Regions from separate parts of the Homo sapiens genome. Here region 2 is linked to region 1. The links are contacts of gene promoters, found by promoter capture Hi-C in blood cells and fetal thymus (Javierre and others, 2016). All regions are on one chromosome and are shown on one strand. The core of a region is centred on a gene start or on the middle of the fragment in contact, and the rest is flanking DNA. Distances in the headings are between cores, read along the strand shown.

What was found. Contacts are between HindIII fragments. The CHiCAGO score rates a contact against its expected background, and 5 or more counts as called.
Region 2: a contact is called between the fragment with the promoter of RGR here and the fragment with the promoter of CERNA2 in region 1, in 1 of 17 cell types (neutrophils). The highest score is 5.0, in neutrophils.

Annotation. Positions count from the first base shown.
Region 1 is chr10:84,169,084-84,173,325 of GRCh38, reverse strand. CERNA2 (competing endogenous lncRNA 2 for microRNA let-7b) reads left to right here and starts at 1,250. Exons shown (of 2, transcript NR_134505.1): 1 at 1,250-1,604. RefSeq lists enhancers at 6-55, 876-1,115, 1,466-1,515, 1,430-1,931. The HindIII fragment of the contact is 12,565 bases long and covers 1-4,009 here.
Region 2 is chr10:84,243,745-84,248,212 of GRCh38, reverse strand. It overlaps RGR (retinal G protein coupled receptor), which reads right to left and starts at 3,160. Exons shown (of 7, transcript NM_001012720.2): 1 at 3,044-3,160; 2 at 466-622. The coding sequence starts at 3,122. RefSeq lists an enhancer at 2,515-3,014. The HindIII fragment of the contact is 12,009 bases long and covers 1-4,468 here.

The DNA of each region.
Region 1 (4,242 bases), core at 1-2,500:
GAATGTCTTTGAGTCGGCTTCCCATCTGTGAAATGGGCACAGGACTATCTCTCTCACAAGCCTGTATTGAGGCATGTATGAGAAGCCATCTGCACCAAGGTGCTCACACAGCTCTTAAAGGAGGTGGGGCCACAGGTGGACTTTGATGTTTAAGACAGTGATGAAATGAGAAGACACTTCAAGTACAGGGTCACCCTGAACAAGGCCTGGAAGAGAGGAGCCTCTGCCCAGGGCAGGCATGGGGGAAAGTCTGACCACAGGTGCAGGAGGCTCAGATGCCACCCATTCACTGGACACGTGACCTGGGCTGAGCCATGCGCTTGGCTCCAGGGACACAGAAGACACTGTGCCTCGCCTCAAGGAGCTCCTGTTGGTGGAGGAAGCTGTGCAGACAAGTGACTGTCTCACAGCATTGTAAGTGCTGTCTATACTGAAGGAAGGGGACGTAGGTTGCTCAGTCAGAAGGTGGGGGAGGGAGGGGACACTCTGCAGAGATGGAATAAGATTGGGTCGGAGATGGCCTGGCATGGTAGGCCAGGTCATGGTGGGCTTCCTGGACCAGCAGAGGAATCAGACTGGCAAAAGGGAGGCCGGGGGATCCTTCAGCCGGGTAGAGACTGATGACAGGAATGCTTTGGGCTCCTTTTCCATCAGAGTGGGTCTGAGTTCCCTTTAATAATGGTGCATGGGTGCCTGAACACTTGCTAGGCTCTGGCCTCAGATGGTGTCAGAGGGTTCAGAGCCCCTGGGCCTATGAGAGGTGGTGGGTAGGAGGAATATTTTTCGGAAGAAATTAGGATGTTTCCCATGCACCCTGATGAGCCTCTGCCTGGGCTGCTCTCAAACCTCCACTCCCAAACTGAGGGAAGAGAGATACCCTCTCATATTGTTTTATATTGTTTTATACTCAGTACCTCTTTTAAGAAAAAACAAGGAAGTAAAACCAAAGACAGGCAGCCCGGCGCCAGGCCTGAAACCAGGCCTGGGCCTGCCTGGACTAAACCCAGTAGTTAAAAATCAACTCATAACTTAAAAACCAATGTTATTCATAGATTCCAGACATTGTATAGAAGAACATTGTGAAACTCCCTGCCCTGTTCTGTTTCTCTCTGACCACCGGTGCATGCAGCCCCTGTCACGTACCGCCTGCTTGCTCAAATCAATCACGACCCTTTCATGTGAAATCTTTAGTGTTGTGAGCCCTTAAAAGGAACAGAAATTGTGTATTCAGGGAGCTCAGATTTGAAGGCAGTAGCTTGCCGATGCTCCCAGCTGAATAAAGCCCTGCCTTCTACAACTCAGTGTCTGAGAGGTTTTGTCTGCGGCTCACCCTGCTACATTTCTTGGTTCCCTGACTGGGAAACGAGGTGACTGACGGATGGCCGAGGCAGCCCCTTAGGCGGCTTAGGCCTGCCCTGTGGAGCATCCGTGAGGGGAACTCCGGCCAGCCTGAGTGACGTGATCCAAAGAGCGCTCCCGGGTAGGCAATTGCCCCAATGGAACGCCTTGCCAGAGCAGCGTGTAGCAGGCCCCCACGGAAGATTAACACAGTGGCTGAACACCAGGAAGGAACTGGCACTTGGAGTCCGGACATCTACAACTTGGTAAGACTAGTCTTTGGAACTTGCCCCACTCCATCTGAGTGGAAGCGTGGCCTGATCACCCACAGTGTGCCTGTATTGGCATTTTGTTCTGGTTTTGACTTGGCTTGAGTTGGTAAGACTAGTCTTTGGAACTTGCCCTACTCCATCTGGGTGGAAACATGGCCTGATCACCCACGGCATGCCTGCATTGACACTTTTGTTCTGGTTTTGACTTGACTTAGATTGTGTGATACTTTGGTTTTAGTTTTGACCTGGCTTGGATTTCTGGATACTCTGATTTTGGTTTGGTGTAAACTGCAAAAGTGTGTGTGTGCCCTTTTTACCTGTTTTTTGTTTTGTGGTGTGTGTGTGGTGTGAACATGGTGTTTTGTCTTGAAGAAGCATGGGTCAGGCAAAAATAAGCCCACCCCACTAGGAACTATGTTAAAAAAAATAAAAATTTCAAGAAAGAATTTAAGGGAGATTACGATGTTACTGTGACACCAGGAAAACTTAGAACTTTGTGTGAAATAGACTGGCCAGCATTAGAGTGGGTTGGTCATCAGAAAGAAGCCTGGACAGGTCCCTTGTTTCAACGGTATGACACAGGGCAACCTGTAAGCCAAGGCACCCAGACCAGTTTCCATACATAGACAGTTACAGCTGGTTTTAGACCCCCTTCCCCTCCACAGTAGTTAAAAGAACAGCAGCATAAGCAGTTGGGAGAGGCAAGGAAAGACCAGCAGAGAAAAAAAAAAAAGAGGCCATCTATACCAATTCTAAGTTAATTTAGACTAAACAAGGTCTTATTAATAGCAAAGGATAATTGAAATCCCAAACTTACAAGGTTTTCAACAAAAGTGAAGTTTGCTAAAAGTTAACAGCATAACATATATTGTGGTAACTTCTAATCTTGTGGCCTTAGAGAGTCTAGTCCAAAGACATAAAGAAAGTTCGCTTTAAAAAAAGGAATGGTTATCTTCAAAAAAAAAAGCGGGGGGGAGGCAGAATTTATGTAAAAAGAGTGTTATATGGTAAATTCTTGTCCTGAAATAAATTAACTGGTTGTTTAAAGAAAAAAAATGTTTGTAATAAGTCAGAAAGTTGAGGCATGTTGAAGAATTGTCGGCGAAAGTTGTGAAAGAAAAAATGTTATAAAAAAATTTATGCAAAAAAGCCTCCTGAGTACTACTATTGAAGAAACAGTTTATGTGCAAGGTGTATAAAAATAGTAAAATATACCTTTGGTAAAAAGATTATAAGGAGGCATAAGAATGTGGATTTTTACCAACATTAAAAGGTTAAAAAATTATTGTTTTGAAAGTTTAAGCAAGTTTTAAAACTTTAATTGTAAAGAAAATTCTGTGTATAAACATATTAGCTAAAGTTAAAAAGGTATCATCCAGCTTTTCTGTGAACTGGACATTAAAGTAAAAATGCAACAGGTTTTTCTTAAAGCATCAACCTGCTCTTTAACAAAAATTATAAAAGGTTAAAAAGAGTCTATAAAATCTCACCTTATGGTCAAACATGAAAAATTGGATAAATATATCTACAAGGTTTTATTAAAATTAAGTTTAACATTAATAACACACTAATATAAAGGTAAAATTTAGCTTATCTGGTATAAAAATCATACAAGAAGCATTATTAAATATAAAATGGTGTTTAACTTTCTTTGGTCTAAAAACTAATAAAAATAGGTACTAAAGGAAACATTCCTTTTACTAGAGGATCATAGAAGTTAAAGACTTAAAACAAACTTTGGAAATTAAGACAGCATACCAAGATGCAAATGCCTGGTTGAAATGGATCAAATATTCCATCTGCACATTAAACAAAAGCAATTGTTATGCTTGTGCACATGGCAGGCCAGAGGCCCTGATTGTCCCCCTTCCACTAAGGTGGTCCTCCAGTCGACCAGGCGTGGGCTGCATGGTAGCTGTTTTCCAGGATTCTACAGCCTGGAGTAATAAGTCATGCCAAGCTCTCTCTGCTATATCCTGAAGTCCCTGAGGGTCAGCCCCCGAAGGCCATCCAGCTTCTGTCTCCCAACGCTAAGTTCACTTCTTGTCTCTCGTGGCAGGGAGGAGACTTAGCATTCCTTGGAGACCTGAAGGGATGCAGTGAGCTTAAGAATTTTCAAGAGCTTATCAATCAGTCAGCCCTTGTTCATCCCCGAGTGGATGTGTGGTGGTATTGTGGTGGACCTTTACTGGGCACTCTGCTGAATAACTAGAGTGGCACTTGTGCTTTAGTCCATTTGGCTATCCCTTTTACCCTGGCACTTCATCAACCAGAGGAAGAAAAAAATAAAATAAAATAAAAATCATAAAGTGAGAGAAGCCCCTTATAGGTCTTTCAACTCTCACATCTATTTAGATGCAATTGAAGCCCCGCAAGGAATACCAGATCAATTTAAAGCTTGAAATCAAATAGTTACAAGATTTAAATCAATATCTTGGTAGATGACAGTCAATAAAAATGCAGATTAGATAAACTACATCTATTACAACCAACAGCAATGAGCTTTTCATGAATTTAAAAGAAAAAATTGTGTTGGCCCCAGCCCTGAGGCTACCTGACCTGATGAAACTCTTTACACTCTATGTGTCAGAAAGAGAAAAAATGATAGTTGGAGTTTTAACCCAGACTGTAG
Region 2 (4,468 bases), core at 1,911-4,410, 73 kb before region 1:
ACATACGGGTGCAGTAGTGGTGATAACGCCCCCATTTGTGTTCACAAACACTTACGTAGAGTCCTAGGTATCAAGCATTATTTTAAGTTATTTACACATAATAGAAGTAAATACTTCCAACCACCTATATGAGTTAGGAAATAATATCCGATTTATGGAAGAAGCCCAGAACTAGAAATGCTGAAGCCAGAATGCAAACCTAGGTTGCTTGGTTACAGAACCCACACCATTGATCTCTACAGCCTACCATCTCTTTCATCAGGTTTCAGCAACCCCTGTCTTCCAGAAATCAGCTGTCGTTCTTCAGAATCAATCTGGAATTCAGCCCATTTTAGCCTGCCCACCCTCTGCCCTTGGCCAATTTTCTGTAAGTAGTAAAAATGCCCTTGGCCTGGCTGCCCAGGGCCCAGGGGTCAGGCCCCAGGCAGGACCCCAGAGCCTGTGGACTGGGGAGGGGGCTGGTACCGGAGAAGGCTGGATGTGGCTGCAACGAGGGCATTCAGGCTGATCCCACTGTCCGCAAGAGCCAAGCTCAGCACCAGTAGGTGGCAGGGAGTCCGCAGCTCCGGGGTCTTGCAGAAAGAGAAGATGGTCAGGGTATTGAGGCTGAGACCGGAGAGAGCTGAAAGGAAGGGTGGGGGCTGGCATTGGGGCTGCTGAGGCCCAGCTGGGGTCAGAACAGTGTGTGTGGGGTGGATGGAACATCAGCAACCTCCTGGACAGACAAGGAAGACAATCAATATAGGGTAGCATGCTTCATGCTATAACAGTCATAATCACTGACAGCTGCCAGGCACTTAGCACACACCAGGCACCAGGATAAGCACTTTATATGAGTCATCTCATTCAATCTTTACTTGGATACTCTCTTCTCCATTTATAGCTGGGAAACTGAGGCTCAGAGACACTAGCTAACTTGCCCTAAGTACACAGCTAGTAAGCGGTGGAGCTGGAACTTGAATTCAGGCCTTTTGGATTTCAAAATGCCTTCTCCAAGGACTGTAGAGCAAAGTCAGAGAGGCTCCAAGGAGAAGAGTCGATGTTAGAGCTGGGAGCTGCCCAGGACGCCAGGCATGGAAGTGAACATGAAGGGGGCGTACTCTGGCAACAGAGAGACCCGACCTTGAATTTTGGCTTGGTTGCCTCGCTTGCTGCTCCTTAAGCTCTCTGAACCTCAGCTTCCCCTATCTAAAGTGAGGAACAGGAAAAAATCCTGCCTTCAAAACTATGAGAAGCACTTACCTGCAGGACAGTGCATGGAAGAGCATTCCAGGAGGGAATAGCATGTGCAAAGACATGCTATGGTACAATGAGATACCACCTTACTCCTATAAGAATGACCATCATTAAAAAGTCAAAAAACAATAGATCAATGCCATGGATGTGGTAAAAAGGGAATGCTTATGCACTGCTGGTGGGAATATGTAAATTAATACAACCTCTATGGAAAACAGTATAGAGATTCCTTAAATAACTAAAAGTAGATCTGCCATTTAATCCAGCCAAAAACACACATGCACATCTATGCTTACCGAGGCACAATTCACAATTGCAAAGATACGAAATCAATGTAAGTGCCCACTGACCAATGAATGGATAAAGAAAATGTAGTATATATACATCATGGAATAATAGCTGTAAAAAGGAATGAAATAATGTCTTATTACAGCAATTTGGATGGAGCTGGAGGCCATTATTGTAAGTGAAGTAACTCAGGAATGGAAAACCAAATGCTGTTTGTTCTCAGTTACAAGTGGGAGCTAAACCGTGAGTACGCAAAGGCATTCAGAGGACACAATGGACTCTGGAGACTCAGAAGGGGAAGGGTGGGAGAGGGAGTGGGATTAAAAAAACCTACAAATGAGGCACAATGTACGCTACTTGGGTGATGAGTGCACTAAAGTCCTAGCATTTGCCACGATGTAATTCATCTATGTAAACAAAAATCACTTGTATCCCCAAAGCTATTGAAATTTAAAACATATTTTAAATAAAATAAAAACCAAAGCATTGTGTATATAATGACATTTCTAGTCATTAAACATGAAATAAAAATGTAAATTTAAACCCCTTCCAAAAAATAAAGTGGTAAAATTTTATGGCATGTTTGAGGACCTGGAAGGATGCTAGATTGTAGGGTTCTCAGGAAAGGGAGACACGGGCTGGGGCCACCAGACAGTCGTGTCCAGAGCCTTCAGGACCAATCTAATGACTGTCACTTCCTCTCCATTGTCAGTTCTCATTAGGTGAGAAAACGTGCTGATGATTTCTCTGGGTCTGCTTTGAACCAAAGCTGCGTTCTCCATCAATTTAGCTTGGGCTGGCCCAGATTCAGGATTGACACTGTCTCTAGCTCTGGCCTCAGCGAGCATCTTAGGGATTCTAGGTTGAGGTAGGTACCTCGCAGACCCAGGTTGCCTCCAGAGGTGAAGTGCTTGGGCTCATAGGAGTAGACACAGTGAAAATAGTGGTGGGGCTGGAGAGGATGGGAGTGAATGAACTTAAATACCCTAGAGTCTATTTAGGCTAGCACTTTATACCCATTATCCCATTTAATCTTTACAACCACCCATTCGGAATGTCAAGGCATTGAGGGCAGAGAGCTGAAGGGACTTGGTTCCAGCCACACAAGAGCAGGAGGCAGAGCTGTCTGTCCCCAGAGCCTTTTGGGGGACTGATCTTATGTGGGATTCTCAGCAGGATTTCCAAGGAGTGGATTAAATTTTCTCCCGGCTGGAGGGACATGAAAAGTCCTAAAGCCTGGCTCTTGATCATCTCCTGGGCAGATGTCCCCTTTCAAAGTCCCTCCCTCCCTGACCCTTGCCTGGCTTCCTCTCTGCTCCCAGCGGGCAGTGTGCTGCACCTCACAGGTTCAATTGTCAGAACACCCCCCGAGTCCGGGCACAGAGGGGAAGGCAGCCAATGGGACCGGACACCCAGCTGGGTTTGGGGACCTCTCCTCTCCTTGCCAGCTCCACACTGGTGGCCTGGGTCCTCAGAACCCACTGGGCCCCCGCTGCACCCCAGGTTCTGCCTGGCTCACCTTCCACCAGTAGCACCATCCCCACAGCCAGCACCTCGAGCTCCCCGAAGCCAGTGGGCAGGGCACTGGTCTCTGCCATCCTCACTCTCCCTCACTGCCAGTGGCCCAGCTGTCTCTGGCTTCCCACAGCCAGGCCCTCCCTTTTAAAGGGCCATCCCATGTGCGTGGAGGCACATGCAGGTTATTATGTTGGACCTTGGGCTGTTTCTGGATGCCTCCCCGCTGCAAATGGTCCTCTTGGCCCAAGCAGAAGGAACCCATTCACGAGTTGGACAATGCAGCCTTTGTGAAGCCAGAATGGAGCCCTGTCTCATTCATTTCAGCCCCATTGCACAGGATTAAGGTCGGGGAATCCAAATGGTGTGTGGCTGAGAGCCTAATTGGAAAAGAGTTGCATAACCAGGGGAGGGGAGCAGGAGGAGGGATTTGAGCCGCAGCTGTTCCCAACAAGCCTGGTGCCTGTGTGTGTGTCCTCAGGCTCACATGAGTATACTCCAAAGCGCTGGGGAAAGGATGAGGCTTGGGAAGTCGCCTGCTGTCAGAGGAAGAACCCCATCTGGGACCAGAAAATGGGGTTGGGGTTCTGGTTCTGAATCTGCCACTAACTAGTTATGCGCCTTGGAGTGGGACCACTGGACTCTTCCGTTTACTTTTCTGCAATGTCAATGTCTTTTGTCTGTGGCCTTTATATAAGTCCTGGTTAGATATCACGAATATAAACCTCAGGGCTGCATTTCCTGTCTCCCATAGAGCACCTGAGCATAAAAAATGTCCTAGGACACTGTCTTAGAACAGAGGGGCTGCCTGCCGTCTTGTCAGTCTCCGACCCCGAACCCGCCCAGCCTTGCCGGCCCCACTAAGAGCTTTGGCTGCTACAAATGACTTCTTGATACACTGGCTCTTTATGCACTGTTATGCTCTGGCTCATGATAAAATTTACACCAGGAAATACTGATCTAGGACAACTTAGTTCATTTTCAGATAAAGAAACCAAGCTCCAGAGCACTATCAGCAACATAGCTAATATTGAGTGAGGTCAGGCCCTGTGCTAGGGGATCTTCTGATGAGTCCTACAACAACTCCATGAGTTAGATACCATTATCCTTTCCATTTTAGATGAGGAAACTGTGGCTAAAAACAGTTAAGAATCTGCCTGAGGCCATGCAGTAATTTATGGATGGAGCTGGAACAAAAGCCGATCTCCTATTCCTCAGGCTCAGGCATTTTTCAATGGCATCTTCTGACTCACCTGGTAGAGCAACCCACTCTGTTCCAGGAATGCCCACTTCCCAGGCCTTTCCTCTCATGAGTCCTCACTTACATCCAAGCCTAATCCCTCTGCAGGGCTGAGCTTATGGCTGCGCCCTCCAGAGCGTTCCCTGTTCTTTCTCAATTTCTTTTTTGTTTTTTTGTTTGTTTTTGAGA